Linked DNA regions of Homo sapiens: region 2 is linked to region 1. The links are contacts of gene promoters, found by promoter capture Hi-C in human tissues and cell types (Jung and others, 2019). All regions are on one chromosome and are shown on one strand. Each heading gives the region's core, a stretch centred on a gene start or on the middle of the fragment in contact. The rest is flanking DNA. Distances are from core to core; before and after follow the strand shown. Region 1 holds the start of MAFF (MAF bZIP transcription factor F). Region 2 overlaps TPTEP2-CSNK1E (TPTEP2-CSNK1E readthrough).

Region 1 (2,748 bases), core at 98-2,597:
TGAAACTACCAGGAGAGCGGAAACCGGCTCCGCCCCATCCTCCACGACCTAGCAGGTACAGCCTCCAGAACCCGGACTAGCTAAAAGCCTGTGGTCCTCTCCCTGCGCCGCACCCTTGCAGTCAAGGTTTTCTGGCCCTTCCTGTTCTCATGGGACTGAGGGGATGGGCAACCCTGGGGACGAACGAGAGTCCCTTGGTTCTTCCCTCCCCAGGAAGCCCCAAAATCTGGGGACAAGAACCTGGGCTCCAACTCACTTTGTTACCAGATCCACCGGGGTGCCAAGCGGGGGTGGCTCACATCCCTCACTCCTAGCTCAGCTGGGTGGGGTCTTTGATACCTTGCCCCACCCTGTGGCTGCGGGCGCGGGCTCTGGGCGGGAGACAAACACTGGGGTCACGTGGCGGAGGCCCTGGGAAACTCCGGGGAGAGCCGGGGACGGACAGCCCCGGGTAGTAGGACTGGGGCGGCCCGGGCCAGAATTCCCAGACCCCGTGCGAAGACGCACGGGTCCGCTTCCTTCGCTCGGGTCCTTGTTCCGCGTTTACTCCGGTGGCCGGCCCAGGGCACGCCCTCTCCGAGGTACACACTGCTGGTGTACAGGCCCCAGGGAGCGCGCGCGCGGACACGCACACACAAGCACAACACACGCACACACGCCCCCGAGGTACACAGCGCACGCACGCACCGGGCAGGATACCCAGGCCGCCCGCCAGGGAACACACGCCCGCCCTCGGACGTAAACAAACCGCGCACGCACCGCCCGCGGGCGCCGGGCCAGGGCCTGTTCCCACCGAGTCACGTAGGAGCACAGCGCCCCCGCCCCCGCCGGGCGGACGCGGAGATCGCCGGCCTGCGCTGCCCCTTCCTCCCGGCGCCGCCGCCTACCCGCCCGCGCCCCGGGAAGGGGCCCCGTCTCCACCCCCACTCCCCCGAGCTGGCCTCGGCCCCGTCCTCGGCGTCCCCGGGACGGCCGCTCCCTTCTCCCCGCCCCGAGCCGTCCGGGCGATGGAGCTCCGGGAGCCCCGACGGATCGGGCCCGGGCGCCCACCCCAGGCGCATCCCGGGACGCAGAAACCCTGCCGCCTTGGGGTCCCGCGCACCGTCCTCCTGGTCCCGCGTTCCTCACCCGCTTCTGGGCCCGCTTGGTCCGGCGCGCTCACACACGCGCGTCTCGCCGCTGTCCCGGCCGCTGTCCCGATCCGCGCTCCGGTCAGTCTCCCCTCCGCTCTGAGCCGCAGGTCGCTCTGAACCGGGCGCCCGGGAGCGCTGCGCTGAGTTTTGTTGTGGGGCGGGCGGCGCAGGGGGCCGAGGCCGCGCGGAGTTGTAAGGCGAGCTTCCCGGAATTACTCACTCACAGGATTCCTTTCATTCATAAAAACCCAGTCATGCGGTGACGTCACCGACCCGGCCGCCCTCCGGCCAGGAGCGGCCGCTTGGTCCCTCGGCCCCGCCCCCGTATGACCCCGCCCCCTGGAAGCCCCGCCCCCGGGGCTGCCGCGATTCTCTGCCTGGTTCCAGGGCTCGCTGGGTGCGTTCACGTGACACCTCGCGAGAGCCCCGTGGGTGTAGGTGTCATTGGCTCATTTTACAGGTAGTGGTCCTGGCCCTCTTCTTTCGACCTAGACCTTCTGCCTTAATGATCTCATCCAGTCCCGTGGCTTTAAATGACATTTATATGGCTATGAGCCCCAGGTTTGTATTTCCGGAGCGAACAGCTTCTCTGAGTTCCAGACTCATAGCCAGCTGCCCACTCTGCGCATCCAGTGGGTGTCAGATGGGCACTGCAGAGGACTCGGCCCAAAAACCCGCTCCTGATCGTCAGCCCTACCTCTGCTCCCTTGCCACCCCATCTCAGCTGCTCAAGCCAAAACCTTGGAGCCTGGCTCCATCCCTCCCTCTCCCTTCCTCCCCACCTCAGGACTCAAGCTAGCGGTGTCTCCAGGTCTCCTGCATAGGACCATTTCTCACCACCTCCAGTCATGGCACCTGGTCTCGGCACCATCAGCTTACCCGGACAATGGCAGCAGCCTCCGAGGCTCCCTACTTTGCCTCCAAAGTCTTTCTTTCTATACCAGCCAATGTTCTTCTCAAAACAAAGCTCAGGTTGTTTACACACCTTCTTTGGCCACTCTCTCCTCATCCACTGCTCTTCGGCCACAGTGCCCTTCTTTCTGTCCCCCAAACATACCAAGCTCATTCCTGCGACAGGCCCTTGGCACTGGCTGTCTGGTCTTCTGTTCACTTGCCTGACTCTTTCTCATCTTTCACGTCAGCCCGGATGTCACTGCCTCAGAGAGACATTTCCTGACCACCCTGGTTAAAGCAGTCTTCACCTCTGAATTTTTTTTTTTTTTTCGAGACAGGGTCTCACTCTGTCACCCAGGCTGGAGTGCAGTGGCACAATCTCGGCTCACTGCAACCTCCTTCTCCTGGACTCCAGCCATTCTCCCACCTTAGCCTCCCAAGTAGCTGGGACCATAAGCACACACCACCATGCTAGGTTCATTTTTTGTATTTTTTTTTTTTTTTTTTTTTTTTTTTTTTTGTAGAGACAGGGTTTTGCCATGTTGCCCAAACTGGTCTCAAACTCCTGGACTCAGGCAATCCACCCACGCTGGCCTCCCAAAGTAATGGGATTACAGGCGCAAGCCACCGCACCCAGCCTTGAAATTTGTTCTTATATTATCTTAATACTTCTGTAGGGTGTTTCATCATTTATGTATGTGAGTGCTGGTTATTGTCTGTC
Region 2 (2,915 bases), core at 356-2,855, 140 kb before region 1:
TCCCAGCTACCCAGGAGGCTGAGGCAGGAGAATCGCTTGAACCTGGGAGGTGGAGGTTGCAGTGAGCTGAGATCATGCCACAGCACTCCAGCCTAGGTGACAGAGTGAGACTCCATCTCAAAAAAAAAAAAAATTGGGGAATTAGATAGTATTAGTGGTTGCAAAACCTTGTGAATATACTAAAAGCTACTGACATTTTCTTTTCTTCTTTTGAGATGGACTTTTGCTCTTGTTGCCCATGCCGGAGTGCAGTAGCGCAATCTCGGCTCACTGCAACCTCTGCCTCCCTGTTTCAAGTGATTCTCCTGCCTCAGCCTCCTGAGTAGCTGGGATTACAGGCTCCTGCCACCATGTCCATCTAATTTTTGTATTTTTCGTAGAGACAGGGTTTCACCATGTTGGCCAGATTGATCTCAAACTCCAGAACCTCAGGTGATCTGCCCGTCTTGGCTTCCCAAAGTGCTGGAATTACAGGCTTGAGCCATTGTGCCCGGCTATATATAAAATATATATTTTATATATTGTATAAAATATATATTTTATATATTGTATAAATTATATATTTTACATATTGTATAAAATATATATTTTATATATTGTATAAATTATATATTTTATATATTGTATAAATTATATATTTTATATATTGTATAAATTATATATTTTATATATTGTATAAATTATATATTTTATATATTGTATAAATTATATATTTTATATATTGTATAAATTATATATTTTATATATTGTATAAATTATATATTTTATATATTGTATAAATTATATATTTTATATATTGTATAAATTATATATTTTATATATTGTATAAAATATATACTTTATACATTGTATAAAATATATAATTTATACAATATATAAATTATATATTTTATACAATGTATAAATTATATATACTTTTATATATTATATATTTATATGTAATATATATATTATGTATAATATATATATTACATTATTGGTGGATGGGCCTGATAGCTGACCTCTCAGTCTTGCAGCTTGAACTCTGGGAAGCTCTGTCCTCCCTGGGTCCTTTCTGGGTTGGCACTGCCAGCCTCAAAGCCCCCTGGGTGGGAGGAAGGGGCTCCCCCTCAGGAAGAAGGCAGGGTGAGACTCCTGCCCCTCACACTCTGTGGTTTCCTTCCACACTGCCTTTTTTTGAAGCTGTTGCCCAAGGGTAAACAAACTCTGCTCCTTGACTCCCTTTAGCCCAGTGGGGGCTGGTAGCCTTTTAGCCTGGTGGCTAACCAGGAGTTTGCCTAAGAGGCCCTGTTGGGCTTAGAACAGAAAGGCCTCTGGCCCTTTCTACACATGTGACTTTGGGAATCAACCTCTCAGACCCTCCTTTCCTCATCTGTAACATGAACAAATAAGAATTCCTACCCCAGGACTATGGCAAGGATTACATGAAAGAGGCTTATCCTAGATTATAGTAGGTGCTCAACTAATGGGAACTTTTTTTTTTTCTTGAGTCTTGCTCTGTCACCCAGGCTGAAGTGCAGTGGCGTGATCTCAGCTCACTGCAGCCTCCGCCTCCTGGGCTCAAGCCATTCTCCTGCCCCAGTTTCCTGAGTAGCTGGGATTACAGGTGCCCGGCATCATGCTTGGCTAATTTTTGTGTTTTTATTTTTACGTTTTTATTTATTTTTATTTTTTAGATGGAGTTTTGCTGTTGTCACTCAGGCTAGAATGCAATGGTGTGATATCAGCTCACTGCAACCTCCGCCTCATGGGTTCAAGCAATTCTCCTGCCTCAGCCTCCTGAGTAGCTGGGATTACAGATGTGTGCCGCCCTGCCTGGCTAATTTTTGTATTTTTAGTAGAGATGGGGTTTCACCATGTTGGCCAGGCTGGTCTCAAAGTCCTGACCTCAAGTGATCCACCTGCCTTGGCGTCCCAAAGTGCTGGGATTACAGGTGTGAGCCACCGTGCCCTGAAACTGGGAACTTTTTAAGGAATGAAGAAACTTAGCTGGGCGTAGCGGCTCACGTCTGTAATCCCTGCACTTTGAGAGGCCAAGGCAGGCGGATCATCTGAGTTCAGGAGTTCGAGACCAGCCTGGCCAATGTGGTGAAACCCCGCCTTGACTAAAAATACAAAAATTAGGTCGTATGTGATGGCTCACGCCTGTAATCCCAGCACTTTGGGAGGCCAAGGCAGGTGGATCACGAGGTCAGGAGATCGAGACCATCCTGGCTAACATGGTGAAAACCTGTCTCTACCAAAAATACAAAAAACTAGCTGGGTGTGGTGGCGGGCACCTATAGTCCCAGCTACTCGGGAGGCTGAGGCAGGAGAATCGCTTGAACCTGGGAGGCAGAGGTTGCAGTGAGCCGAAATTGCACCATTGCACTCCAGCCTGGGCAACAGAGCAAGACTCCGTATCAAAAAAAAATTTTTTTTAATTAAAAAAAAAGAAATGAAGAAACTTTATAAAAGTGATATAAGCTTATTAGATGTTGAAAAAGCAGGAAAACAGAAGGATAATAAAGAAGCCTCATAGTGCCACCACCCAGAAATAATCGTAGTGAACATTTTCCTTCCAGACTCTTCCTTGTGCATAAATTGTTTTGCTTTTAAGTATAGCTGTGACCCTGCTGTCACCACACATTGACATCCTGCTTTTATTCTCTTCATATTATAACATATTTCCTCATATTATTATAAGCTGTTTGTAAACATAACTTAATGCTTGCATAATATTCTATCGTGTGTTTGCTCTGTTAAAGAACCCCCTTCTCTGGACACTTAGACCAGCCCCAACCCTCCCCATTATAAAGAACTCCACAATGCCTGGGTGCAGTGGCTCACGCCTCTAACTCTAGCACTTTGGGAGGCTGAGGTAGGTTCATCACTTGAGCCCAGGAGTTCAAGACTAGCCTGGGAAACATAGTGAG

Evidence for each region. The method cuts DNA at HindIII sites, captures the fragments that hold promoters and counts their contacts. A contact is called where the count stands out against the background at its distance.
Region 2: a fragment that was not itself captured here is called in contact with the fragment with the promoter of MAFF in region 1 in 4 of the 25 tissues and cell types used here (adrenal gland, hippocampus, mesenchymal stem cells and 1 more).

What each region holds. Positions count from the first base shown.
Region 1 is chr22:38,200,593-38,203,340 of GRCh38, reverse strand. It overlaps MAFF (MAF bZIP transcription factor F), which reads right to left and starts at 1,347. Exons shown (of 3, transcript NM_012323.4): 1 at 1,129-1,347. RefSeq lists silencers at 691-1,130, 1,191-1,520. The HindIII fragment of the contact is 8,533 bases long and covers 1-2,748 here.
Region 2 is chr22:38,337,511-38,340,425 of GRCh38, reverse strand. The region is part of intron 4 of TPTEP2-CSNK1E (TPTEP2-CSNK1E readthrough); the gene reads left to right. Among named protein-coding and RNA genes, the nearest start is that of CSNK1E, 22 kb to the right of the region's middle. The HindIII fragment of the contact is 6,830 bases long and covers 1-2,915 here.